Regions from separate parts of the Homo sapiens genome. Here regions 1, 2, 3, 4, 6 and 7 are each linked to region 5. The links are contacts of gene promoters, found by promoter capture Hi-C in blood cells and fetal thymus (Javierre and others, 2016). All regions are on one chromosome and are shown on one strand. Each heading gives the region's core, a stretch centred on a gene start or on the middle of the fragment in contact. The rest is flanking DNA. Distances are from core to core; before and after follow the strand shown.

Region 1 (4,111 bases), core at 781-3,280, 700 kb before region 5:
ACCTTCAAACACCATCGGAGTGGGGATTCAGTTTCAACATATGACATTTGGGGGGACACAGACATTCAGTCCATAGCGGTTCTCAGTGCCTAACATTCTTTGGATGCCAAGAATGAGAGCACAGAGTAGATGTGAGAGAGTCCCTGTGGACCTAACTGTGCATTGCTGGTGTCATGGAAAGACTGTGGGCTCTGAAGATGGACAGTCTTGCTCAAGTCCTGAGTCTACTAATTACTGGCTTTGTGTCTTCCAGCAAATGATTTAATCTCCAGTCTCAGTTTCCTCAACTATAAAATGGAGATTATACTACCTATTGTTTATACGAAGCTTGCACATAGTGGATAATCAGCAAATATTAAAAATCCTCTGCTCTCTCTCATTCTACAATTCCTTGAGAAGTTGAAGCACAGTGGGAGAAGAAATAAGCTCCCACCCAAGCTTTTGCTCATCTGTGAGGAGTCGGTCTGTGGTATCGTCAGAGGAGTGTGAAAGGAGGAATTTTCTTGAGACATTCTCCATGTAGTCTCCATCTTTCAGACTACGATCATGTAAAGGAAGCCAAGGGTTTTCACATACACCATCACCACTCCACACATCACCTACCGTTCTTGTCTTGAAAGGTTGATGTGTGTTGCCCAGTGGATGTTGAGCCAATCAGAGATAGAAGGAGAAACCTTAGGCAACCACCTCTTTTTTCCCTCACTACTTATATGGGATGAGATCTGCGAGCATCCCAGAACAAACCTCGAAGTGTAAACAGTATTTTGTACATCCAGAGAGAAGGGTTTCAAGATAGCTGACTAGCGACACCTGGCACTTCTGCACAAAGAAGGACCAAAACTGAACAATCACATAACAAGTGGAGCTTCTAAGAGAACAATGGAATTCATCAGAGAAGTGACAGGGAACATCTGAGGCTTGGAAGGAGAGGGAAGCAAAGCAGCTGGTCCAGCTGCAATCAGCTCGGAGCCAGGAGAAACCCCCCAGTGCAGAGAGAAGGTAAGCAAGAGATCTTCAGCAGTCTACATTGCCACACTGACTCTTACAGTCCTAGCCACAGGAGAGCCCCTCAGCCCTTGTGGGCCCTGAGACTAGTCTAAGGAGCATCCTCAAGTCCTCCAATGCCATTAGTCCAGAGAAGAACTTCACTCTGGGTCCCCCACACACCCCAAGATCAAGACACCTGCAGCATGGCATTATTTTGAGAGGCCAGCCTCCACCAGACTACATCCTTCCCCGGGACTCAACAGCCTCTGTATCTCCACATCCCTCTGACATCCCCTGACTGACATCTATCCAGAAGGCTGCAGCATCACAACACTGGCTGGACCCAGCAGTATAGCCAGATTCCCAGGACTCTGACTCATACAGTATTCTATGCTGCAGGGAATCAGTGGTACTGTGCACTGGGGAGGCAGTCACCAGAACAAAGGGAACTGGAATTCATGCTCCCCAAAGCCTGAGAGCTGCCTGGGTTGGGCCACGCCATTGACAGCAACCCCATCCCCCAACTTCCAGCAGCAGGGCCACTGTGCACCTGCAGATACCTTCAAGGGACCTGGAAACTGGTTTGCCAGGCACCATCCTGGAAACTGAAAACAGGTCTGCTGCACCTATCACCACCACCGGCACCCAAGCATGCCATAAAGGGGACCTGAGGATCAACCTGCCCTGCCCACCACAGCTGGCAAGTGCATGCACCATCAGGTAGGCCACCTGCCCACCACCTCTGCCCACACTAATGCATGTTGTTAAGGTGACCATGGGATCAGCCTATCCCACCTTCCACTTCTAGTGCCTGCACACACCATCGTGGGTTCTGATGACAGGCCTGCCCCCTACTCTGCCACTGCTGCTGGTACCCAGACATACCATCTGAGGGCCTGGGGATCAACCTGTTCAACCCACCACAGCCTGTGCCTGTGTGTACCCTTGAGAGAGCTGAGGATAGGTCTATACTGCCCAGTGTCATCCCTGCCAGTTGCCATGTACATTGGGGCCTGGTGATCAATCCACTCCACCTGCTGCCATTAGCATCTGCACATGCCTCTGCTGGTCTGAGAAGAGACCTGCCCAGTCTGCCGGAGTTTGCACATGTTGTCCAGGCATCTGGGGATTGACCAGCCCTGCCTGCTGTAGCCTGCATCTATGTGCACTATTGTGGGGCCTGAGGGCAGGCCCGCCCTGGCTGACACATCCCCTATCAGTGACCACATGCAATATCCAGGGTCCTGGGGATCAATCCACCCCACCCACTGAGCAGGTCATGCACACTGCTGGGGAGCGGGGGTGGGAGAGGAAGATCAGCAGGCTTGACCCACAACTACCACCACTGGGGCCCAAAGACTGCCCCACCTGGCATCCCCATCCCCAGCAAAGCCTCGCCACAGCCTCCCCAAACAACCACAGCCAATCCACTGAGGAACTCACAGATACCACTGACACTGATTATAGCTGAAGAAATATGGAAACTAAACTACTGCCCCCACCCAAAATAAAAGCCAAAGCATCCTACCCAACCAATACAATAGATACATCTATCAGGAAAAGTCTTTTCCTATGAAAGCCAATCCATAAAATTGAAAGAAGAGACAGTTACACCAGATGCACAAATATGAGTGTAAGGATATAAGAAACATGAAAAAGCAAGGAAACAGAATGCCTCTGAAGGAACACAGTAATTCTCTAGGAACAGGTTTGAATGAAAAAGCAATACATGAAATGCCCAAAAAAGAATTTTAAATAATGTTATTAAACAAGTTCAGTGCGATACAAGAGAACATAGAACAAAAACTGCAGAATACATTTTCTTGTCAGCACATGAAACATTCTCCAGGATAGGCCATATGTTTGGCCACAAAATAAATCTCAACAAATTTTAAAATTAAGATAATATCAAGTACCTTTTCAGACTACAATGGAATAAAACTAGAAATAAATAATAATACAGAGAAATCAGAAAAACAACTTATGATCTGAGTAAGAAATTCAACAGAGATAGATATCATAAAGAAAGAACCAAACAGAAATACTGGGACTGAAGGGTTCAATGAATGAAGTTAAAAATATATTGGGAGGCCGAGGCGGGCGGATCACGAGGTCAGGAGATCGAGACCATCCCGGCTAAAACGGTGAAACCCCGTCTCTACTAAAAATACAAAAAAATTAGCTGGGCGTAGTGGCGGGCGCCTGTAGTCCCAGCTACTTGGGAGGCTGAGGCAGGAGAATGGCGTGAACCCGGGAGGCGGAGCTTGCAGTGAGCCGAGATCCCGCCACTGCACTCCAGCCTGGGCAACAGAGCGAGACTCCGTCTCAAAAAAAAAAAAAAAAAATATAATCAAGAGTTTCAACAATAGACTAGACCAAGCAGAAGAAAGAATTTCTGAATTTGAAGACAGGTCTTTTGAAATAACCCAGTCCAACCCCCCAAAAAAAGAAGAAGAAAAGAAGAACAAAGAACAAAAGAGAGAGCCTATGAGACAACACAAATGAAATTTGAATATTGGGTGTTATAGAAGAAAAAGAGATGGGCAAAGGCATAGAGAACCTATTTAATGAAATAATAGCTGAAAACTTCCTACATCTTGGAAGAGATCTAGACATCCAGATACAGGAAGCTTAAAGATACCCAAATAGATTGAACCCGAAAAAGTCTTCCCCAAGGTATATTATCACTTGAGGAACATTTCAGCTTATAACTGTTGAAAGCCAGACAAAAAAAGAATTCTAAAATCAATAAGAGAAAAGTGTCAAATCACATATAAGGGAACTCCCATCAGACTAATAGATTCCTCAGCAGAAACCTTACAGGCCAGGAGAGAATGTGATAATACATTAAAAGTGCTAAAGGAAAAAGAAAACTGTCACGCAAGAACACTATACTCGGCAAAGTTGTCCTTCAAAAATTAAAGAGTAATAAAGTCTTTCCCAGCCAAGCAAAAACTGAGGGCATTCATCACCACTATACCAGCCCTACGAGAAATGCTTAACATGTTCTACATCTGAAAGCAAAAGGCTGATATTTGCATCATGAAAACATGAAACTCACTGGTGGAGCAGATACAAATGAGAAAAAGAAAGGAATCAAATGTTACCACTACAGAAAACCACC
Region 2 (4,028 bases), core at 1,350-3,849, 590 kb before region 5:
TAAAAATATTTTCATATGCTATCATCTGGAAGCTTTATTATTTTACCTTTCACATTTACATCTATAACCCACCAGGAATTATTTATGTGCACAGCATGAAGAGGGGAAACTTTTCATTTTCTCCAGTTGACTATTCAACTGGCCCAGCATTATTGCCTTTACTCATCATTCTGCACTGCCAGCTTTGTCATAAGTCAAGTACGTGTGCCCAGGGGAGTCTTGTTTCTGTTCTGTATTGTTTCCTTTGGTCCATTTGTCTATACTCACCCCAATACTGTTTCAATTGTTGTACTTTTAAACTGAGTCTTGAAGTTGGATGGAAAATTCCCACAATTTGGTTCTTCTCCTTCAAGATTGTCTTGGCTATACTAGGTCATTTGCAATTCCACATACCTGTCCAAATCCACTTGTCAGTTTCCAAAAAAAATGGGGAAACAAAAAACCCTTCTTGGATTCTGATTGGGATTGTTTTGACTCTATAGATCATTTCTGGGAAAACTGACATTCTTATAATACTAAGTCTTCCAATTACATGTTTATTTAGGACTTTTAAGTTTTGTTTCAATATTGCTTTGTGGCTTTCTGTGTAGTGGTTTTGCATATCTTGCATTAGATTTACTCACAGCCATCTGAATTTTTGAGGCTGTTTGTAATTGTTTGTTGCTGGCGAATAAAAATACAATTTGTTTATGGACTAAAAAAGACACCACTTCTGAGTGTAAAGGTGAGCCATAGGCTGGGAGGAGATATTGGCAGCACCTTATACTGACCAAGGCTTTTATCTAGAATGTATACAGCTCCTATTAAAGAGAAAAAAACAACACAGTGGAAAAAATGGGGAACAGTCCTGAAGTGATTCTTCACCAAAAAGGATGCTGAAGTGGCTAAACAGCCATATGAAAATTGTTCGACATCATAAATTCTCAGATAAATGCAAATCAAAATTATACAGTGAGATTCCACTGCAAATCCATCAGAAAGGTAAAGTTCAAAAGAATTTCAATACTAAGTGTTGGCAAGAATATGGAGTAGCAGTGTAAACTGGTATAATTTTTATTTTGTGGTTTCTTTTTTTTAACCAGCATTTATTTATACTACCATTTATTCTGTCCATGCTGGGGGTGAGGGGGAAGGGGTACAGAGAACCCCACAGACGAGGAGCGTGCTCCTGCAGGAAGACTGCATTTGGAGGCCAGTGGGCCCTGGGGGCTGGCGAGGGGCTTCTTTGGTTCTCAGAGGTAACGGAGTCCAGCGCAGGGGGCGGTAGGTAGGTTGCAGAAGCCGGCTCCCACCAAGCAGGCCAGCTCCGAGAGCCCGGGAGGCGTGTCCAACCTACGCTAGGCCGCGTGTGGCCGTGGCCCCGGCTCCTGTTCGGGTCTGTCCGGTCCCTATGCCCCAGGAGGGAAGCCAGCGCCGGGCCCCTGCTCTTCTCAGTGGGGAAGGTACTGTGCAATTCATCAGGTTTACATTAAAAATAATACAAATAACAATATAGAATTTAAAAAGCCTGTCTCAAACTTGAGACCAGCCCACCCGGCGCCCCGTGTGAGAAGCAGAGGCGCCTGCCGCAGCCCGGAGCGGAAATGAGGGCCTGGTTGGAGCCGCGGGCGGGTGCGAGGGTCTCTTGGCGGCTCGGGCCGTGGGGCTGAGGGGCGGAGACGGCCCAGGGCTGCGGGACTGGGGGCTGCAGAGAGCGGGGCGGGGACGCGCGCCAGAGGCCAGGGCGGGGCGCGGGCTGGGCTGGGCGGGTCTGCTGGGCGTCGCGTTCTCGGCGTCCGCTCATCCCGCTGCTCTGAGCTGCCTGGCCTCGTGGAGATGTATGGCGCTGTTTTGGAAGAGGCCTAGGGCGGCAGGAGAGGCGGGCGGGCGCCAGCGCTTGGTCTTCTCGGACCTTCCAGATAGCCGGATGCACGCAGGCGCCGCGCCCCCGCGGGAGCTGTGCTGTACATGCGTCTCTGGGTGAGATGTCCCACGTGGTCGGCCGTGAGGCTCCGCAGAGAGCACTTATAGGGGAGGCCCAGGCGCTGGGGAGAGCGCGGACTCGTCCACCTCCGTGCTGTGGATACCCTAAGAGGTCACAGGCCGCTCTCCAGGCGGTGCGGGTGACGATGGTGTTGGTGCCAAGCGGAACACGTTCAGCAGGACTGCCTGCAGCTGACGCTAATGTCGGCAAGAAAGCCGTCGGTCTTGACGAAGGCGTCGCGCACCACGTTCCTGTGGCCGCGTTACCGGGCCAGCTCCAGGCCGTGCGTGGTGCAGGGCGCCCAACAGTCCAGGGCATGGGTCCCAGTGGGGAGGCGTCCCCCAGAGCTTTCTCAAACGTCCTCACGAAGCCCTCCAGGCGCTCCTTCCGCCGGCAGGTGAGCTCAGCGACCTGATGGCGCCGCGCAACCCCGGGTCTCCCAGCCGCCCCCAGTGGCAGCAACTCCTCGTTGCGGACATAGAGCTCGACGAGGACACGTGGGACTCGGTGCCGCGGGACAGCAGGTCCTGCAGGAGGAGTCCTTGGGCTTCTTCTCCTTGGCCGTGAAGAAGACGGAGCGGTGGGTGTGGGACGGGGAGCCGTTCTTGAGCTGGGCCTGGGTTAGCAGGAGCTCCTCAAGGGGCTGCACAGGGCGGCCTGGTTCAGGTTCCTCACCGGGGGCTGCTCCAGTAGCTGCACGAGAAGCTGGTCCCGGCGGCCAGCCTGCCCACCAACTCCTCCTCCCGGGACACATCCTGTGGCCTCGGGGATTCCCAGGCGGCTGAGCTCTGGGAGGGTGTTCGTGGCAGTTCAGGTAGAGGTTTTCTCCGGGGTTGCCGGTCTCAGGTCATCGTTTCCTCTTTCAGCGCCTTCTCCATAGCCTCCTGGTGGCGCAGAACGGAACACTTCTGGATGAACAGGTTGAGATGGCGTTGGCGGATGACGGTGGTGACTGCCCCTAAACTCTTAGGGGATAATGGGTCTCTTTACACTCTGTAAGGATGGACTGTGGGCGAGTCGCTTACGGGTGATGATGGTGGTGGTCTTGGACGCCATCCCTCACCACCTGCGGGTCTCAAGCAGCTGGCTGAGGGGCTTGGGGCCTCACTGGGGGTCTGGCTGCAGCTGGCCACGAGGGTTTTCTGTAGGGGCTGCAGCCAAGCGGGTTTGGGGACGTGGGCGATCCTCTTGGAGCGAGGACGGCTCTCCGCTAGCCTGGGGGCGGCCTGCAGCCAGCTCACCTACTTCCTCTGCGCGTGCTGGGCCGGCAGGTAGCCAACTAACTCCTGCGCCGGTGGGCGGGGCACCGCGGGACTCCTCCTCTAGGGCTCCGCCTCCTGGCCTTGCTTGGAAAGATATCATCCTCTTCTGAACAGAGTGGTCAGACCCGAAGGTCTCTTCCTTGGGGGGCTGAAGGCCAGTCGACCTTTGTCCTCCGTGTTGACGCTAGTGGACTCGTCGAAGATCCACAGGCACGCCTCCAGGGGGTCGGAGTGAAGTCCACCTCTTTTTCTAGGGCTGAGTAGTCCACATCCTGCCCGCGCTGGAGGAGAAGGAGGAGGAGTAGGATGGGCCGGGGAGTGGGGCGGGGAGTCCTTGAGCCGCTTGGGCGATTTCTGAGCCTCCCCGAAGCCCAGGCTGGAGACCGAGTCTAAGTCCCAGCTGAGGCTGGGAGGGCAGGGGCCCACATCCTCGGCGCCACAGATTCCGGGGCCTCGTCCTCACTCTGGTCTCCGAAGAGATCAGGGTGGCTCAAGACCCGCTTCTTCAGCTTGGGGCGTCCTGGGAGGGGTCTAGCGAGCAGGCCTTCCACTCCACCAGCTTCCCTGCAGGGGCCTTCGTGTGCTTCCTGTCTGGGAGGGTTGGGGCAGCAAATGGACTTCGGTGGCCGAAAATGGCTTCTTACTGGTCGCTTCCCCCGCTCTGCCTTGCGGCAGGGGCTGCTGGCCTGCAGGCCCTTCTTGTCCACACCGGGCATCTCCCCGGGCTGCCCTCAGCCCTTGTCCTTGGTCTTGTCCTCCTCCTGGGCACCATCTTTGCGGCTGGGGTCCCGCTTTTCTTACTC
Region 3 (3,653 bases), core at 150-2,649, 540 kb before region 5:
ATGTTGAAGGAAAGCTCCTTCTGGACTCCTTTATGGAGTTTGAGCTCTCTTCCAACAGGGAAGACAAGTTTAAGTTTTCTCCTGCATCTAGGATAGTAGAGAGCAGTCTTCGGCCTGAGACCCATCCCTAGGTAAGTAACTGAATTGGGGTTTGTCTTGGCTAAAATTTAATTTCTCCTTAGTGTTACAGTGCTCAGTAATAGTATAAGTTGTGGGATCATTTGTTTTGCTTAACTGGTTTTTTTTTTTTTTTTGGTTGGTTGATTGTTTCTGTTGTTCTTGTTGTTTCAGTCTTTCTTCCATTGGGTTTGACCAACTCTATTTGACTTGATCAAATCTGAAGGGAAGTTCCAAATTATGGGAACGAGGACTCCCAAGTGGCTAAATTCCCATACACACACACAAAAAGGTGGTGAGGTGGGGGGAGAAAAATGGCCAGCAAAAGGGAAACAAAAAGGAAAGATTTTTTATTTTGAGTACTTAAGGGTCTTTATTAACATAACGAGGCCACCTTTTTGCTAGCCAGGCCAAACGGAAAGAGCAATGGCTGTCGCCCCGTGCTGCAGTTCCATAGCTAAAGTTCTGCCTTCTCTTTTCACCACAAGAGCCTGGATTTGGTTCCCAAATCAAGCCCTTTCTCATTTGATACTTGGTACTTCTGAAATAGCAGGAATTTGTCCTAGCGGAAATATGGTAATGAGATTTTAAAAGATTTTTTTAAAGGAGCTCAACTGGACTAAAGGTCAGCTTAATTAAAAGCTAACATCCAAGATTCCTCTGTGTGTGTGTGTGTGTGTGTGTGTGTGTGTGTGTGTGTGTGTTTGTACTTAAAAGGCCTTCATGTTTTTGTTTTTGTTTTTTTTCTCCTAGGACCTTGTTTTTTTTCAGCAAAAGTTTTTTCTTCTAGTTGAATGAATTCTGTTTTCTTCATTTACTTCTGCTGTCTCCCCTTTCTCTTGCACCCTCTGCTGCATGAGAGACCTAAAATAGTTTTAGTAGATTAGATTGGGATTCCTTAAAGAAAACAGAAAAGGTGCCAGACTCCCTTTTGGGGAGAAACCTCTGTTTTTCCTTATGGAACCCCAAGAGTGTAAACAGACAAGTTCATCTCAGCTCTTAAACTGCTTGCTTTTGTATTGTGTTACCTGATTTTTTTACTAAAATAGCTATTGGAACAGAGACTACTCTTGTGTGTTTTTAAGGAAGAGTGTAGTTTAGACACTTATAAATGTTTTTGTTTAAAAACATTTTTAAGTGCACTGTAGCTGGGCACGGTGGCTCACGCCTGCAATCCCAGCACTTTGGGAGGCCAAGGCGGGCGGATCATGAGGTCAGGAGATCGAGACCATCCTGGCTAACACGGTGAAACCCTGTCTCTACTAAAAATACAAAAAAATTAGCCGGGTTTGGTGGCGGGCGCCTGTAGTCCCAGCTACTCTGGAGGCTGAGGCAGGAAAATGGCATGAACCCAGGACGCAGAGCTTGCAGTGAGCCGAGATCCTGCCACTACACTCCAGCCTGGGCGACAGAGCGAGACTCCGTCTCAAAAAAAAAAAAATTTTTGTCTCAAAAAAAAAAAATTTTTTTTTAAGTGCACTGTAAAAGCATCGTGTGGTCTAGCCTCATAATAATTCTCCCTTTTTGGAGACCCAGGATTCCAGTGATGGCTCTGCCCAGAGCTCAGAGATCCAGTTAAAATATAGGTAGTCTCTATCTAAATAAATTGGTCTCCTTAGACAATCCTATGATAGATTTCTATAATTTTATGTTTGATTTGGCATACATCTTTAATCTCCCTCTAGCACCACCAGACTTTTTCTCTCTGTACCTTGAGATGTAAATTTTGCTGATTTTTCACCTAAGAATTATTTCCTTCAATATGCAGACTTAGGGCTATTTAACTGACAACTGCCAGAGTAATGAAACAGGTTATCAAGAGTTTGCAAGTCTAAGATAGGAAAAAAAAAAAAAAGAGAAGGTCTTATGAATCGATAAGATGTACTTCTACTGTTATGCCTAATACTGTTACCGGTGGAGGGTCTTGACTACAAGTTGTCCAGGTTCTTGGCATTTTGAACAAAGAATTGAACAAAACTCACAAATAAAGTAGCAGAGGAATGAAATGCAGGAACACAGCAGTGAAAGCAGGAATTTATTAAAGCGAGAAAGCACTCCACAGGGTGAGAGTGGGCCCCAGCAACAAGCTCAAGGACCCAGTTACAAATTGTTTTGGGCTTTAAGTACCCCATTTGAGGTTTTTTTTTTTTTTTTTTTTTTTTTTCCGGAGTTTTGCTCTTTTGCCCAGGCTGGAGTGCAGTGGAATGATCTCAGCTAACTGCAGCCTCTGCCTTCCGGGTTCAAGTGATTCTCCTGCCTCAGCCTCCCGAGTAGCTGGGATTACAGGCACCTGCCACCACACCCGGCTAATTTTTGTACTTTTAGTAGAGACTGGGTTTCACCATATTGGCCAGGTTGGTCTCAAACTCTTGATCTCGTGATCTGCCTGCCTCAGCATCCCAAAGTGCTGGATTACAGGCATGAGCCACCCGGCCCATTTGAGGTTCTTATTGGCTACCGCTTATCTGGATTTGGTCTATGGCTAATTTAAGGCTGAGGTGAATTGGCGCCCTGTGCAGATGAAGGGAAGGTCCCCTGCTTGGCCCATAGCCAACCCAAGGCACTCTCCTTTTCCCCCTGAGACGTGGCGGAAGTGGGAGGGCTGTAGCAAGAGTAGCCTTTGATCCTTTGTTACCTGGGGTGGGGAGACAGGGTTTTTCTCTTTTGATTTAGCTGTAGGAAGTTTGTGTTAGTTGGCCTTAGGTTACCTGCCCACAGACCCAGGTGTTTTCCTTTTATCCAGCTTTGGGAAGTCAGCTTGAATGGGCCTTAGATTCCCTGCCCCCCAGGCCTTGGTGTTTTGTCTTTTTTTTCCTTTTTCCTTTTTTTTTTTTTTTTTTTTGAGACGGAGTCTCCTCTGCTGCCCAGGCTGGAGCGCAGTGGCGTGATCTCGGCTCACTGCAAGCTCTGCCTCCCGGGTTCACGCCATTCTCCTGCCTCAGCCTCCTGAGTAGCTAGGACTACAGGCACCCACCACCACGCCCAGCTAATTTTTTGTATTTTTAGTAGAGACGGGGTTTCACCATGTTAGCCAGGATGGTCTCGATCTCCTGACCTTGTGATCCGCCCACCTCGGCCTCCCAAAGTGCTGGGATTACAGGCGTGAGCCACCGCGCCTGGCCTTCTTTTTTTTTTTTTGAAATGGAGTTTCGCTCTTGTTGCCCAGGCTGGAGTGCAATGGCACGATCTCATCCCACCGCAACCTCCGCCTCCTGGGTTCAAGTGATTCTCCTGCCTCAGCCTCCCGAGTAGCTGGGACTACAGGCACCCACCACCATGCCCACCTAATTTTTTGTATTTTTTTGTAGAGACGGGGTTTCACTGTGTTAGCCAGGATGGTCTCAATCTCCTGGCCTCCTGATCCGCCCACCTCGGCCTCCCAAAGTGCTGGGATTACAGGCATGAGCCACCGTGCCCGGCTGTGTTTTTTCTTTTAGGAAGTCAGCACAAATGGGCCTTACGTTCCCTGTCTCCTACCCTATTCTCCTGGCTCAATATGTCTATGTATTTATGTGTTGCATACACAATGTTTCACT
Region 4 (3,721 bases), core at 695-3,194, 650 kb before region 5:
AAAAGGACTTAAATAAAAACATTCAAAGAGTCTCAAGTTACTGTACAGCTTCCCATGAAAAAACCTGGTGAGAAGAGTCAGATGGCAAAGCTGGGCTAAGTGAGCATCTTAGGGTGGCATGCCAGCCCACACGCCATCTTAGGGTGACATGTTAATGCCACACAATGTCTTTGGGGTGACATGTTAATGCCACAAAATGACTTTAGGGTGACATGTTAATGCCACACAATGCCTTCAGAGTGACATGTTAACATCACACAACATCTCAGGGTGACATGTCACCACATGACATCCTTAGAATGACAGTGCCACAGAACATCTTAGGGTGACATGTTAACACCTCACATCTTTAGGGTGACACATTAGCACATGACATCCTTAGAGTGACATGTTAATGCCACACAATGTCTTTAGGGTGACACATTCACAACACACGACATCTTTAGAGTGACAGGTTAGCACCACACAAACGTCTTAGGGTGACATATTAGCACCACAGAACGTCTCAGGGTGACATGTTAACACCACACAATGTCTTTAAAGTGACATGTTAGCACCACATAAATCCGCATATTGCTAAAGTCTGAGATAGAGAACCCGCCTCTGGCCACTGATTTTTCACTTGGCTTTAATTGCACATGTCAGGGGTGACGTAAAGTACTCTCAAAACTGAAATAAAATATTGCATTGCTTTAAATTCTCATCATTCCATAAGCACCAAAGTTTACAACATGACATCTCCTACAGAATGAAATAAAAACCTCATTTCTTCAACAAAAAGTTAATTTTATTAAAAATGAAGGAAAGCTAATTTAAGGAATATCAATACTTCTAAATTTCATTGAAATAAAACTATACTTAGTAGAAAATCTTTAGGTGTTTTTCCTGATACACACTTAGAGAATATATTAGCTTTTTAAAAACTATAGGTCATTAAGTTTATTTCCAAAAGGCTACATGGTACTTTTAAAATTACTTTCTTACAGGTAATCAATACAGAACCACTTTAAAATGTCAAAAAATGTTGAGGAGCTTATCTCAAAGACCAACAGACCATGTCGTTCCTAGGACACAACTGAGTTCCTTTTTGTTGTGGTGGTTGTTAGCTGCTTATTCATATTACCACAGTATTTCTAAACAATCCATGCATGGCTGTGCCCTGAGTTACTGATTCTAGGTTTCCCCTTGTGGCAGATGAGGGACACTTTCCTTCCTCTGATCTTCCCAAGAGAATTTCACTCTGGTCACCATTTTTAGTTTCACTCTGGTCACCATCCATAATCCTGTGTTCTTTACAGACTATACTATGCAAATATTGTTTGCTCCTGAAACAGGAAATACACTGAATTACAGATATTCTTTTACACCTTTTAGTTTTTCCTGGAGTAACTTTCTCACATTTTATTTGCTTAGTTTTCTTTAAACCAGTACCTAAGCTTTTTCATACCCACCAACAGCTCTGTAAAAAGTCTCTCGATAAGATTTTCCACATGGTCAAATCTACTATGACTTTGCTTTCCCTGGAGGCGACTCTCCATAATTGGCTGCTTTCCAGGTCTTCTGTGACACTGCTGTCCTGGGACTTGCACCTGTCAACTTCCTGGGGATTCTGCTCCCCTGTCTTGTATGGGAGCCCCTCTTCCCTGGATCTGATCCTCCTTCTTAGAGTACTCCCTTGTTGTGGTAGACACCACACTCCAGTAGCTTCCTGAGATGAAGTACAGGGAAATTAAATTTGGGGGACAGGATGTTTTAAACAGTCTTTGCTCTACTCCACATTTAATTGGTAACTTTCTGGGCAGAATGCAACGTTAGAAATCATTTTTACTCAAAACTTGGAAGTTGGCCGGGCACGGTGGCTCACGCCTGTAATCCCAGCACTTTGGGAGGCCGAGGCGGGTGGATCATGAGGTCAGATCGAGACCGTCCTGGCTAATACGGTGAAACCCCATCTCCACTAAAAAATACAAAAAAAAAATTAGCCGGGCATGGTGGCAGGTGCCTGTAGTCCCAGCTACTCAGGAGTTGAGGCAGGAGAATGGCATGAACCCGGGAGGCAGAGCTTGCAGTGAGCCGAGTTCGCGCCAGTGCACTCCAGCCTGGGCAACAGAGCAAGACTCCGTCTCAAAAAAAAAAAAAACTTGGAAATCATTTCCATTTATCTTTTAGCTTCAATGAAACTGTTGCAAAGTCCAATGTCATTTTTGGACTTTGTACATAACCTGTTTTTTTCTTTTCTTTTTTTTTTTTTTTGAGACAGAGTTTCACTGTCGCCCAGGCTGGAGTGCAGTGGCACGATCTCGGCTCACTGCAACCTCCACCTCCTGGGTTCAAGCAATTCTCCTGCCTCAGCCTCCCGAGTAGCTGGGACTACAGGCGCATGCCACTACACCCAGCTATTTCCCGTCTAATGTTTTAAGCATTGTCTCTTTATCCCTTTATCTTAAGCTTTCACAATAACGGGCATGATGTGGATTTGTCTGTCTGCACTCATTGTGTAGGAAACTGGTAGGTCTTTCCAATATGCAACTATGTCCCTCATTTCTTTTTTTTTCTTTTTTTTTGAGACAGGGTCTCATACTGTTACCCAGGCTGGAGTGCAGTGGCGTGATCTCGACTCACTGCAATCTCTCCCTCCCGGGTTCGAGCGATTCTCCTGCCTCAGCCTCCCAAGCAGCTGGGATTGCAGGTGCCCGCTATGAGGCCCAGGTAATTTTTTGTATTTTTTTAGTAGAGACGGGGTTTCACTGTGTTGGCCAGGCTGGTCTCAAACTCCTGACCTCAGTGATCCGCCCACCTCGGCCTCCCAAAGTGCTGGGATTACAGGCATGAGCCACTGCGCCCAGCCTATGTCCCTCATTTCTAGAGCATATTTTTGTGTTATTTTCCTCCCTCCTATTGTGTGTTCTCCCTCACTAGGTCTCCCACTAGTCACATGCTGAACCTCCTGGATTAATCCTCTTTCTTACGTTTTCCTCTCCCATTGTCTATTTCTGCCTGCTTTCTAAGATATGTGACTTTGCTTCCCATTTTCATGAACTTATTAAAAATTCAGCTATTATATATTTTATTTTCAAGAGCTCTCTTTTTCCCTCAAATGTTTGTTTCTTGGATGCAACAGCTTCTCTTATTTCCCTGAGGATATTAATTATGAATTATTATTTATTCGAAGCTTTCTTCCACTTCCTGCTTTCTCTTTGTTTTTATTTCTACTTGTTCAGGTCTCCATCTTTCAAGCTGGGGCTTTTCTGCCATGTCCGCTCATCGGCTACTGGTCTGTGCTCACGCATAAGGCACAGCTCCTCGCTGTCCTCAGTGCACCGGAGGGGCTGCGGAACGGTGGGAATCACTGTGGAGTGGCTGGATGGGGGATTGCCAGGGGTCTCCAAAGAAGTAGACCAACGGGATGTGTAAAAGTAGAGAAAGAGATTCACTCCAAGGAACTGGCTGCAGAGGCTTCATGAGTCCACAAACTGCCTGGGGTGGCCAGCAAGCTGGAGACTCAGGAAGGAGCTGCAGCTGGAGTCTGAAAGCAGAGTGCTGGAGAATCCTCTCTTGCCTGGGGGTCCAGCATTTTGTTCTAGTCAGACCTTCAACTGATTGACAAGGCCCACTCACATCCTATGGGGCAGCTGGCTTCACTCAAAGTCCACCAACTTAAATGTAAATCTCATTCAAAAACGCCCTCAAAGAAACATCCAGAATGTCTGACCACATGTCT
Region 5 (3,959 bases), core at 738-3,237:
AGTACCTGGAATTGGAATTGTGGAGCCATAGGTGGTGTATATATGCTTCATATTATGATAAACTACTAAACTTTTCCCAAAAGGGTTATGCCATTTTACACTCCTAGTAACCAGGAATTAGAGTTCTAGAGTTCTGATTGTTACGTATTTTTGCACAGATTTGCTGTTATCAGCCTGTTTTTTTTTTTTTTTTTTTTTACAGACGGAGTCTTGCTCTGTTGCCCAGGCTGGAGTGCAGTCGTGTGACCTCAGCTCACTGCAACCTCCACCTCCCGGGTTCAAGGGATTCTCTTGCCTCAGCCTCCTGAGTAGCTAGGGTTACAGGCATGCGACACCATTCCAGACTAATTTTTGTATTTTTAGTGGAGACGGGGTTTCTCCACGTTGGTCTGGCTGGTCTCAAACTCCCGAAATCAGGTGAGTAGACAATTATAACAATACACTGTAATGAAAGTTATTTGAATGTGGCCTCTCCCAGATTACCTTCTGGTACACATCTCTTTTTGAACCAGATTTTCTTGGATAAGGGGAACCACTGTATGTGTTACTTGATTTTCTGTGTTTTGCTGAAAATACTGTCAACTCAGACATTTGGTGGTTGGGGTGAACTTGCCAACATGTGATTTTATGTTTTTTTGGAATGAATTATTTTTTTGAAAATTATTTATTGAGCATTTACTGTGTTTAGCACTTTACTAGATGCTATATTATACCCACTTGGAGCTTATGGTCTAGTAAGGGGATTTACAGTGTAGGGAGACAGACCGAGGAATAAATAAATAAATGTTAATACAAATGCTATGCAGCAAATGAAGAAGGTATTGTGAAAAAGGAAAAAAGAGCATGAGATAGACAGGATTGCCTTAGATGGTCACTATAGGCCTCTAAGGAGATGACACATGGGCTGAAGTCCCAGGGATGAAGAACTAGTCAAACGCATCTCAGTCTGTTCAGAATTTAAAAGTGACTCTTAAAGCTAAGGCAAGGTATGTGTAGTGTGTATGGACCACCTACAGTCAGATATACGGAGGTGTGTGACCTCTAACCCTGACCCACTGAATCAATATCTGGAGGTTCTGGGGTTACAAATTTCATTTACTAAAAAACTTAACAGGAGATTTCAGTTACTGAAGAAGTTTAAGAAGCACTGAGAGTTGTAACACGTCTTAATGTTCCATCAGCTCTTCCTGAGTTATATTGTTCCTCAGATCCCGTTATGCTCCATTGCTAAAAGGAAACATGGCCGGGCGCGGTGGCTCACGTCTGTAATCCCAGCACTTTGGGAGGCCGAGGCGGGTGGATCGCGAGGTCAGGAGTTCAAGACCAGCCTGGCCAATATGGTGAAACCCCGTCTCTACTGACGGTTTCAGCCATCCGGCGGGGGGTTCCTGGAATGCATCCTTGTGGGTAAGTGGGGAGCTGTGTGTACATTATGACCACTCCCGTAACCAAACCTAGCGTTTGACAAAGGCCTCAATTACAGCGGCATTCATTACCGTGAATGACAGCCAAAGTCAAAGTTTGGGGTGGGGATACTATTTTGAATTAGGCCATAACATTATATTGCTCATAAGCTTCATTTCGACCAACATTATATACATACAAAAAGTATGTACCGTAAGGACACACATCAAGCTGGACCGCAGGAAAAAAAACCACAACTTAGGATTTACCTAGTCAGCCGCTACTAGAGAGCAAGCACCGCGCAAGGCCGCTGGGGCTCGTGCTGTGGACGTGAGTGGGTTGAGGTCGGGCTGGTGGGGTAACCCGGGATCCAGCCGGAAAAAAGGGATAACGCTAGACTCACACTCCTAAGGAAGGCCAACGCCCCAACTAGCGAGCTCCGCAATGCATCTCTTCCAGGAAGCGTGGCCGGGCGCACGTCGCGCTGCGCTTGCGCACTGAGGTTTCGCGTAAGGAACCAATAGGACGGAGGAGTGGGCGGGCTGTTGGCAGAAACCCGGATTCCGGTTCCGGTGGGCCTCCATCAGCAAGCTCCAGTGCTACGTGTCCCTGGCATTTTAGGTGTCGGTTGGGTAGGTGAGTTTCTTCCCACCGGTCGGTACGGGCGAACGGGGCGGCCACACCTTTGCGACTCTTGGGGGCAGCGGGCGTGGGCGAGCCGGCGTGTCTCCCCGGGCGGCCGTCGCGGGGCGGGCGGTAAGTGGTCCCCTGGCTCAGGGCCGGGGTCTGGCCGCCGACATCCCACCAACTCGGCCTCTGGCGGAAGGCAGACCCAGGGCCGCGGACTCCCGGCGAGCTGGGTGGCCGGCCCGCGGGGCTCCAGGGCTTAGCGTCCTGCCCCGGCGTCTTCTGTGCTGCAGCCAAAGATGATGTCCTGCTGCCCGATCCCTTCGGGGTTGGCTCTGTGTGCTGTTGTGGAGTCCTGTCTGGGAAGAGCTGTACTCAGCTCTGGTCCTGCCGCCGCTTCCGTGGTTTAAAGTGAGAGCATTGGTCTAGAGTCTAGTTCGAGAGATCATAGTTGGTTTTTGGATCTCTACCCCTGACATTGAGTGCGGTATTGTGTGTAGCGTGCGTTTTTCTGGATAAAGAATTCTTAGCTTCCTTCGTGACAACTATGATTACAAAAAGTTTAAGCCCTTTGGATTTCAAGAGCAAAGTTGAGTGAAATACTGAGAAAACAGACATTACTGTGTTTTTGCCCCCAGAACGTTGCAGAATTCCTGGTGTTTCATTGACATTATTTCATTTCGTTGTCCACACCCTACACTAAGGAAGGCAACTGGGGCTTACAGAGGTTTACATTCCATAGCCAGTGATTTGAACTACCACCTGGCCACTGTTCTGAGTACTGGAAATGGAGGAAAATACAAATAACACCCTGGCTGCTTTACTTACTATAGCAGTGGCTCTCAAAGCTAAGATCGGATAACATTTCTATTGGGTAATAGATTCCTCAAAAGAACCTGTATGGTAAAATATATAGCCCTGTTTCCTTAAAAGATGTGTTCAAATCGAAAAGTTTGAAATTTAGCTAGTAGCTTCTCAGAATTTGCGTCTTCCTTTAGCCATTCTTTATACTTTAGAAAAGTATGTTGTATTGGCACGTTTTAGAAAAATCAAGGTTGAAATTCACGTTTGCCTCTATTCTAGGCTCTTGCAGCACCGTAGTTGGCATTCACTGTACAAGACACTGGCTTCTGCGTAGTTTAAAATAAAATATGGAAAGTAATTGTTGGATCTCAACACTGATGGTTCCTTAGGAGCGGTGAGGGGACTGTAGAATGAGAAATGGATGGGACTGCAGAGTGAGAAAAGGAATGGATGTGTTACCAATTGCGTAACCTTTTTTAACCTTTTAATAGAGATAGGCTTTTTATATTGCGTGTGCTGTTCTTTGTCAGTGAAGATATCATGAGTAAGATCTGTGCTTTTCTTATTGCCTTTGATAATTAACTGAAATTTCCAAAAATAATATCAATTTAGGCTTTGGAGTTTGTTTTTTGTTTTATTTTAGGAGGTGGAATTGACCCATGTTAGACGTGAATTCAGTGGCTGGTCTCATTTACATCTTTATATAAATGAGCAAGTGCTTATTGTATGAGAACCAATACCAGTGAGTATCTTTTTTGTTTTAAACAGGCAGTCATGGATCAGGTAATGCAGTTTGTTGAGCCAAGTCGGCAGTTTGTAAAGGACTCCATTCGGCTGGTTAAAAGATGCACTAAACCTGATAGAAAAGGTAATTGCTTGACTATGAGAGAAAAAATTAAATCTTTGCATTTTCTAAGCCTTTTGTTTGATTAACATCTTGATTAATAGCCCTTGCATTACTTTGATCAACATTTTTATTGATTGATCCTGCGCGACAGCTTTTTAACGTTGTCACTTCTTCCTAAATTTTTTACTCGTCTAAATTTTTATGTATTTTCAAATGGTGTAAGATTATTTATTACAGCCTTATGTTCCATGTAACATTTTAGTTAGTAACATTTTAT
Region 6 (4,064 bases), core at 714-3,213, 510 kb before region 5:
GATAATTATAGGTGCACAGTCCTTGAGTTGACACGAGTGGGAGGGACTGCTTGAGGAAGGAGCGAGGGCTTTCGCCAGCAGCCACAAAGTGGGCAGGGCCTCACCGGGCCCAGGTGCAGAACATCCTGCAGAGGTGGTGGCACTAGAAGATCATTGCATGTGCACACTCAGCAAAGTAAGAAGTGATGCCGTGGTTGGAGAGTGAGGAGAAGGGAGGGGTGTGGGGAGTTTGAGCAGTGAGCGGTTGTGAAAAAAATCTTCAGGGGAAGGGAGAGCAAATGGATTCTAGAAATATGGAGGGTCACTGGGCAGGGTGGTGGGCCTTGGGATTTATGGCTATACAGCCAGCGAGGCTGCCAGCACCAGCAGCCTCTGATGAATTCTGTTTCGTGTTCAGTCCCTCTCTCCCTGACAGGATGGCTTTCCCGAGAAGGAATTGCCGAGAAGAGGTGAGAATTGGCCTTCATCCTAAGAACCCAGAAGAGAGCTACAGGACGGGAAATCACACTGGGTGGCCAGGACAGATGTCCTTTGTGTGTGAACACATGGAGCATCCCTGTCACTGTTGCCTGGAGCCCAACTGCAGTGATGGCAATGGCGGGAAGGCTGCCAGGACCTGTCCAAGGGCCCAGCATTTCCCCTGCTCAGGGAAGGCACCATCAGCCGGGGTAGCCTCCTGCACAAGTGCGGGAGGAAAACAGTGAACCAAGCCAGACACGGTCCCCACCTTCCTGGAGCTCGAGTGGGGTCAGGCTGCTTTCTGTGAACTTCTCCCGGGCGGCTCCCCTGCTGACTGTCTGTCCAAGGAAGGTTCCTGGCTGCAGCCCAGTCTCTGACATCCCTGGGCATTTGGAATTGGAAGGCCCTCTTCACTCTGCCCACTTGATGTCCCCAAACCATGGCCCAGTTGTCAAAGTGGGTCCTGAACCAGGACCTTGCCTGTTGATTTTCTTCAAGGTTGGTGCCAGCAGTCCTGACTTCTTCAGTGAGGGAAGATGGGCTCCTGGCCGTAAAATCCACCTTACAGGTCTGCAGGTGTCACATAGCAGGGACCTGACCTTCCATGCCGATCCTGTCTGACGCTGGGGTGTCTGACAGGCAGTCAGCGGCAGGCACAGCAGGCCCTCTTCTTTTAGCATATAGAGTTCAGGCTACTGATGTGTTCTCTCAGGTCCAGAAAATCCGAGTACCAGGAGGGAATCACCCTGGGAGATATTTACCCAGAGATCCTTGCCGTCCTCACTGCAGTCTGTTCAGGCTTCCATGACAAAACCTGATAGACTGGGCAGCTTAAACATCTGACATTTATTTTCTCACAGTCCTGGAGGCTGGAGTAGTCCAAGATCAAGGTTCCAGCAGGGTTTGGTTCTGGTGAGGGCTTTCTTCCTGGCAGACAGACTGCACCTTCTTGCTGTGTTCTCACATGGTAGAGAGGGAGAGAGAGAGCTCTGACATCTCCTCCTTTTTTATAAGGACACCAGCCCTATTGGGTCATGGCTTACCTTCATGACCTCAGTTAACCTTAATCACCTGGTGATAGGCCCGGTCTCCAATACAATCACGTGAAGAGTTAGGGCTTCAGCAGGTGGAGTTTTGGGAGACACAGCTCAGCCCATAGCAGTCCTATAGCTCCATCTTGGCCCAAGAAACCCCTTATAGAGTCCCAAACAGGCTCTGTCCAGCAATATTTGGTTGTACTTCTGGATGACTGGATTTCTGAGGGTGGCACCTCAAAGCAGGCATGTCCTGCTGTCTGGAGTGAGGAGCTTGGGATAAAGGGCTGATGTTCCTGATTCTGAGGCTCCAGTCCTTCTGGAGGGAAACGGCATTTCTGGAGTTTCTGCTTCTCTGGCTATCTTGGCACCCTGAGGCTGCCCAAGGCACCTGATGTGCCTCATGTGAGGTGGCAGCTCCCCCTCCCTGCCCCAGTGGCCCAGCCCATCTGGCATAGCGCCAGGCCTCGTGAGGATGCTCTGTCTGCTGCCCCCAGGTTCATTGTTTCACATGAACTCTGGGGAAGGGTGTGGGAGCCGGGGGGCTGTGCTCAATATATGTCCTAATTTTAGAAGTAAGATTGGCAGATTTCCCTCTGTTCTAGCTAGGACTAATGATAGAAGTCCAAATACAATCAGGTCAGGAAGAAAAGGGTCCTTCCTGACTCTCAGAACTAGTTTAGTGAGTTTCTTCAGCAGCAGTGGGGTCAGGCTGTCAGTGCCTGCCAGAAGTCAGCCTCCCGCCCTCTCAGCTCTGCTCTGCACTGGCTGGACCTTCCCTGCTGTGGAAAAGATGAACTCCAGCACTCCAGGTGCACACAATTCCTGCAGTTGGCAATTGGGTAAGGAAGGAGAATTTTGTCCTCGAATGTCCTCTCCCCTATTCATGGACGTTCTGGTTGCTTTTGCTTGGATCCTATTCTGTGGGGTCTGGAGGCATGGGGCACCCTGATTGGCCTGTTTTGTTTATGCAGGAGGCTGTGGCCCTGGGTTGTCAGCCTGGCAGCACTGTGTCTGGTGCTGGGGTCTGCACGAGGAAGCTGCACGTGGACACAAGTGCAAGTTTGCCTGCTCCTCAGCCTCTCCACGGCGTGCATCTGAGGTCCAGGCTTGGCCGCAGTGCCCACACTTAGAAGAGAACATCAGGAACCTTCTGCTGTCAGGAGAACTGGACTATGTGCCTCCCATTTCCAGGTCCCAGCATGCTCTGGCTGCCTCTGTTCAGCTGTGGCCTTCCTCTCGTGCAGCATGCTCTTCCCAGCGCCATCACTGCCTTTGCAGGCTGATCAGCATGGTCACGAACATGGGGCTACACAGGGGGAGCTGGTGTCCCATGCCCGGCCTCTCCTTGCGTGAGGTGCTTGTTGGCCATAATCGTGTGGCTCTTTGGCCCACCCCAAGGTGGCCTTCTGTCAACATGCTTTTGACTTTCTGGCAAGTCGTCCTTGTCTTGCCTGTGTTTTTTTTTTTTTTTCCCATGTGACTTTTTCTCCAGCATGTCCTCACCCCCTTCAGGCTCCACCCAAGCCTGCAAGGAGAGGCCAGGAGAGGTGGGGATGGCAGCTGCTACAGCTTAGTTTCCTTAAAGTTGTGTCCTTGGCTTCGTGGAGCTTGAGGGGAGGTTTGTAGGCTTTAAATATTTTTGCTCTTTGGATGGAAACCCAGGGCCTCCCGGTGGCCTTCTCCTCCACTGGAGGGTGCTGTAGTGTAGGAGGAGTAGTTGTGAAATTGATTTAAAAGCTGTTTGTTCCAAGTTCAATAAGAGAACCATGGGAGATGTCACCACGTTAGACTATGGGGTGGTGGTCTTTGGGGATGGTGGTGGGAGAGGGAGTTCCCATTGGCCATCATCCCAAGATGCCATTAATGCCGGGACAAGAAACAGGGCTCAGGGAAGTGACCCCGAGACAGGAGTGAGGACAAAGCCCTCATCTCCCAGGGGTGGGGTGTTTGTTCCAGGCTCTGAAGTTTGGGAGGCCTATGTCATATTTTGTAGGGTGTGGGGGTGCCTCAAGGAGGCAGTTAAGGCCCAAGGTGGGAAACTGGTCCCTGGGGGATGGACGAGGGTCTCAGCCCCCATGTAGCTGCACAGAACTCTGAGGCAGGGCCTCGTGGTCAGGTGTGGGGTCCAGAGTCTGTCAGACCCAAGGACAGGCTGGTGGTGTTGTGTGTGCTCAGCCTGGGGGGTCTATGGTCTTGGGGGTCCTGAGGGCCAGGAGGGTCTAGTGCTGGCATGGAGGTGTGGAGTGTGTTGGGCAGCCTGAGACAAGACCCCGGAGGAACTCTCAGGAGAGCCTGGGCACATTTTGAAGCATATCCATTGCTGGAAAGGAATATCCCTGTGGGGGTCTGTGGGACCAGTCTGTGGTTTTCCCCAGTTTAATCCTTCAGTTCTGGCATTCAACAATAGATTTTTCTGGCTCCCAGATTATAGCTCTGTTTTCTAAACTCTAGCTCAGTCTTTTCCAAACTTGGTTGGTGGTAGGCTTTGGAAGAACAATTTCACCAAACTTCTCCAAGATCCAAGTGTCAGATGATGAAGAGCAGAGCTCAGGAGCCAGAGTGGTCCTC
Region 7 (4,005 bases), core at 132-2,631, 670 kb before region 5:
CTGCAGACAAGGACTGGGCTGTTAAGAGAGGCCTCTTGTCTTTCATGACACAAGCCTTAGCTCACAAGACGAGAAGTACCTAGTCCCAGACCACCTCTTCCATGATGACAGAAACCCTTCTAAAAACTGAAATCTATGTGATAGAATTAATGAAGGTAGGCTAACCCAAATTACTGCTCACATTTTTTCAAATAAAAGTCACACAAATACCATAATGTTGTTGGTTAGAACATTATGTTTCTCATATCTATAAATAAGGGCTAGTACTTTTTATCACCCAAAAGTAGACAAAAAATAGGAAATGCATTCATTCCAAATTTAGATTTTGATAACTTTCCAAAAGGTTGAAGTAAGTTTAATTGCAGGGACATGAGTCCAGTTGAGTGTCTTTCTGTTAATCTGCAATAACCCATCTGGAACTGTATTTACTTTTCTTAGAACAGTAACTTATAATGTTGATAAACTGAGGTGGAGCCTGTTTTAGTAACATATACCTGGGTAAATGTTCTGGAACTGCCAGTGCTTAGTCACTGCTGCCTACAGTGTGGCCATCAAAGGCTTCTTGGGAAAGCTCCCTTTGGGTCCAGAAGTCTCCCCAACAAAGCTCCAGCTGCCCTGGACTCTACACAAAGCACCTGAAGCCTCTGCTGGGAATGGGGCCCTGACAGAGCTGCAATGCACTCTGAGGCTTCTTTAAAACACGAAGGTGAGTGTAAAATCCAAACGGGAAGCGTTCAGCTGTGCACTCCCAAACCACCCCAGCACGCCCCTGCAGAACTGCTGGTCCTGTCCGTCCTTGGAGTGGTCGCTCCCTCATTCTCATCTGGAAGGTGCCACAGAAAAGGCTGACAATGTATTATCACTAGGATAGACCCTAGATAATCTTTCTGATATACAAGATAGACACCACCTGTTCCCTCATTTGTCAATATGGAAGAAACCCCACTTTATACATTTTATACAGAAAAGTGGACACTGCCATACATTCATGCATGGTCAGCTCTGAGCCCTCAGGAATAGAAGGGCCTTCCATTTAAAACAGCTTACACCTGGAGACAACAAACACCAAGAAACATGCAAACACTACAGAGAATCTGTATGTGAAGAAGTCATATTTTATATTGATGAGGGTGCTGTTAGAAAATGTTGATGGATGGCTTCGGTCACTCATGCTAGTCTAACCAGAGGGGCCTGTGACGGTGTCTGCTTCTCTTTCAGGATTCCCAGTTGTTTCTGTGTCAGGCACTAAGCAATCTGGTGGCTTTTGGTCCAAATGGGTATTTTAGTTGTCTTTTTGCACCTTTTAATCCCTCTTCGAAGAGTCAAGTTCAAATGCTGGAAACCGTGATGTCTCTGGTCCCAGGACATCAGAGAGAAAGTGAATAGCGCCAGCCATGCCTGCAATGTAAAATGAGGAGCCTCTTAGGAATGGCATAAGGGTAGTGTCTATAACAGTGACTTTTAATCATTTCCCTTACCAGGGGCTGCAAGCATGTGGGAAAGGTGCTGAGGACTCTAAAGATGACTTCATTAAAAACCAAAGATATCCTTATATTTAGCACCTGGCAGGTAATATAATAACACCAGTTTTCCTCACTATCTTATATTTAAAAAACTGGTTACTGGGCTTTAATCTTATATCTTGAAACTTTAAGGTGGCATCACAGAATCGCTATGGAAGTTATGGATGCTGCTAATTACGATATTCCTATACACGGAGCTTCCCCTCAGAGCCTGTATATGCTCAAAGTTGCATTTTATATCTTCTTGATATTTGAAGAATGTTATTTTTAACAAACCTCAATTTGGTCAAAATCCCCACCCCAAATCATTGCAGTAATTGAGCAGTGGGTTTTCAACTAGACTCACAGCAGCTTAGGAAGGGTGTGGGGTGGAGAAGGTGCTAGTAGCCCACCAAGGCCTCCAGGTCTCCTGTCCCCACTCAAATCAGAACAATCCTCCCTTACAGGGTTTTTGTTTACAGTTTTTCTTTTGATGTAAAATTCACGTACAATAAAACACATAAATCCAAAATGTACTTCTCTGAGGTTTGTAAAATGCATATACATGTGCAAACAAAACCCGATTAAGACCTGGAATATTTCCATCACCCCAGGAAGTTCCAAGTGCCCCTCTCCAGTCCCTCCCATCCCTGTGGTCCCCCCAGAGGTAACCAGCAGCCTGGTCTTGGTCCACCATGGATTAGTTCTGCCTGCTCTGGCACTCTTATGAGCATGGCCACAGTGTACAGCCCTTGTATCTGGCTCCTTCGTCAGGGTTCCTGCAATTCATTCACGTTCTGTGCCTGTTCATAGTTGGCCCCTTCTTACTGCTGAACAGTACACTGCAGATTGTTTACCCATTTTTCCTACTGACGGTCATCTGGGGTGTTCCCAGCCTTCTCTGTAAGTTTTTGTTTAAAGAAAGGTTCCAGAAACTTGTTTAAAAAATTAGAAAACCACTGACCTAGGAGTGCCCATGAGAAGTAAACAGGGACCCATAACAAGCCTAGGAGGCCCTACAGCAGGCCCTGCGGGGATGAGCCTGGCTTTCCTGCTCAGGTGTGTGGGCAGCGGATCCACTGGGCGGTGCACTCCAGCAGGAGTGAGCTCCTCCAGAAGGGGTGCCAGGTGCCAGTGAGCCCTCCCAGTGGCTCCTCCAGCCGGCCAGTTTGCCACAATGGCCTGCATTGCTAGGCACACGGCTTAATAATCCCTCCGTCCCCTGACGGGAATTTGGTGAGAGTCCCCCACAGTTCTGTCTGCCAGGCACTGGCGAGGCACAGGGGAAGGAGGTGACCTATTAACTTCCCGCCTTTAGGGAGCTGTACATCCAAAGCTTTTGACCCACTGGGGCTCTGAAGGTGCTATTATCAAGTTGATAAACTCCATTTAGAGTTCAGGCATTAACTCTGTTATATCTGATGCAAATGCATTGCATTTTTATGACATAGAGGACTACAACTTTTATTCTAGTAAGTACTTTTTCCTTATGAGTTCTCTGAATATTAAAAAAGATCATCTTCTGCAAAACATGTGACACATGCTCTGTTTTCTGCTCGTATTTCTAAAATATGATTTAAAAATATTACCAGTATGAAAACTAAAACAGGACATACCACTACAGACGATGCAGACAGAGGATGATAAGGAATACCAATAGCTTACATATTTGCATTTCACCACATGTACGTAATTAACCAATTTCCCAAAAATTACAAACTATGACAGCTCACCCAATATGAAATAGATAACTTGAACAGCCCTATAACTATTTTAAAAACGGAATTTATTTTAAAAGTCTAGAAAAATAAATCTCCAGACCTAGAAGTTTGTACTGGAGAATTCTACCAAACATTTAAGTTACACTAATACCAATTCTTCCACCAATTAACACAGTCTGTCCCAGAAAACAGAAGAGAAGAAGATACTTCTCAACATGGTTTATTAGGTCAGTATGACCCTGATACCAAAACCAGAGAAAGACAGCACAAGACAGGAAAACTGTAGGCCAATATCCTTCATGAATAGAGATGCAAAAACCTTTACCAAAATGTTAGCAAACAGAAAGCACGCCCATACCCACATACAAATCTAACGAATATCCGGGCCTGTTTGTGGGGCTTCTGTTTGTGCTCCTGTCTTCCCTTCCCTGCGCCCGTGGTGGACTCTGGAATCCTTGTTGCTTTCACTGCCTGCCTATCAGTGCTCCTCTTTTCAGAACTTTCTTCAATATTCACTCTTGCTATTTTTTCTACTTACTAATATTTCTAATTGCTAATATTAATTATTCATACTTCTTTATATGATATTAAATATATTTAAGTAATTATTCAAGCTTCCCATGAATACACCAATATTAAATATGCAACATTACAGATGAAATGCAGAGGAGTAAACTATTTCTTCCATTGCTAACAGCAAGCCTTCTACGTTCTGTCTGCATAGACACCTCACAAAAAACCTAAGAACACTTGGAAGACATTCACAGGAGCACAAAACAATA

What was found. The method cuts DNA at HindIII sites, captures the fragments that hold promoters and counts their contacts. A CHiCAGO score of 5 or more calls a contact.
Region 1: a contact is called between a fragment that was not itself captured here and the fragment with the promoter of SEC61G in region 5, in 5 of 17 cell types (naive CD4 T cells, total CD8 T cells, naive CD8 T cells and 2 more). The highest score is 8.3, in naive CD4 T cells.
Region 2: a contact is called between a fragment that was not itself captured here and the fragment with the promoter of SEC61G in region 5, in 3 of 17 cell types (non-activated CD4 T cells, naive CD8 T cells and total CD4 T cells). The highest score is 5.6, in non-activated CD4 T cells.
Region 3: a fragment that was not itself captured here is called in contact with the fragment with the promoter of SEC61G in region 5 in 1 of 17 cell types (total CD4 T cells); the score reaches 5.7 in total CD4 T cells.
Region 4: a contact is called between a fragment that was not itself captured here and the fragment with the promoter of SEC61G in region 5, in 4 of 17 cell types (naive CD4 T cells, naive CD8 T cells, total CD4 T cells and 1 more). The highest score is 7.8, in naive CD4 T cells.
Region 6: a contact is called between a fragment that was not itself captured here and the fragment with the promoter of SEC61G in region 5, in 10 of 17 cell types (total CD8 T cells, non-activated CD4 T cells, naive CD4 T cells and 7 more). The highest score is 8.9, in total CD8 T cells.
Region 7: a contact is called between a fragment that was not itself captured here and the fragment with the promoter of SEC61G in region 5, in 6 of 17 cell types (naive CD8 T cells, total CD8 T cells, non-activated CD4 T cells and 3 more). The highest score is 8.3, in naive CD8 T cells.

Annotation. Positions count from the first base shown.
Region 1 is chr7:55,461,877-55,465,987 of GRCh38, reverse strand. It overlaps a transcript of VOPP1 not described here. Among named protein-coding and RNA genes, the nearest start is that of LANCL2, 99 kb to the right of the region's middle. The HindIII fragment of the contact is 3,179 bases long and covers 441-3,619 here.
Region 2 is chr7:55,342,810-55,346,837 of GRCh38, reverse strand. It overlaps the pseudogene LOC100129276. Among named protein-coding and RNA genes, the nearest start is that of LANCL2, 21 kb to the left of the region's middle. The HindIII fragment of the contact is 5,129 bases long and covers 35-4,028 here.
Region 3 is chr7:55,295,292-55,298,944 of GRCh38, reverse strand. No RefSeq gene overlaps it. Among named protein-coding and RNA genes, the nearest start is that of ELDR, 41 kb to the right of the region's middle. The HindIII fragment of the contact is 6,525 bases long and covers 1-3,653 here.
Region 4 is chr7:55,407,512-55,411,232 of GRCh38, reverse strand. The region is part of intron 5 of LANCL2 (LanC like glutathione S-transferase 2); the gene reads right to left. Among named protein-coding and RNA genes, the nearest start is that of LANCL2, 44 kb to the right of the region's middle. The HindIII fragment of the contact is 1,012 bases long and covers 1,439-2,450 here.
Region 5 is chr7:54,757,239-54,761,197 of GRCh38, reverse strand. It overlaps SEC61G (SEC61 translocon subunit gamma), which reads left to right and starts at 1,987. Exons shown (of 4, transcript NM_014302.4): 1 at 1,987-2,040; 2 at 3,604-3,703. The coding sequence starts at 3,610. It overlaps SEC61G-DT (SEC61G divergent transcript), which reads right to left and starts at 1,885. Exons shown (of 3, transcript NR_110040.1): 1 at 1,674-1,885. RefSeq lists an enhancer at 849-1,784 and a silencer at 2,018-2,337. The HindIII fragment of the contact is 2,422 bases long and covers 1,577-3,959 here.
Region 6 is chr7:55,270,383-55,274,446 of GRCh38, reverse strand. No RefSeq gene overlaps it. Among named protein-coding and RNA genes, the nearest start is that of ELDR, 17 kb to the right of the region's middle. The HindIII fragment of the contact is 4,625 bases long and covers 1-4,064 here.
Region 7 is chr7:55,428,619-55,432,623 of GRCh38, reverse strand. It overlaps LANCL2 (LanC like glutathione S-transferase 2), which reads right to left. Exons shown (of 9, transcript NM_018697.4): 9 at 1-1,398. The coding sequence ends at 1,304. Among named protein-coding and RNA genes, the nearest start is that of LANCL2, 65 kb to the right of the region's middle. The HindIII fragment of the contact is 2,918 bases long and covers 1-2,840 here.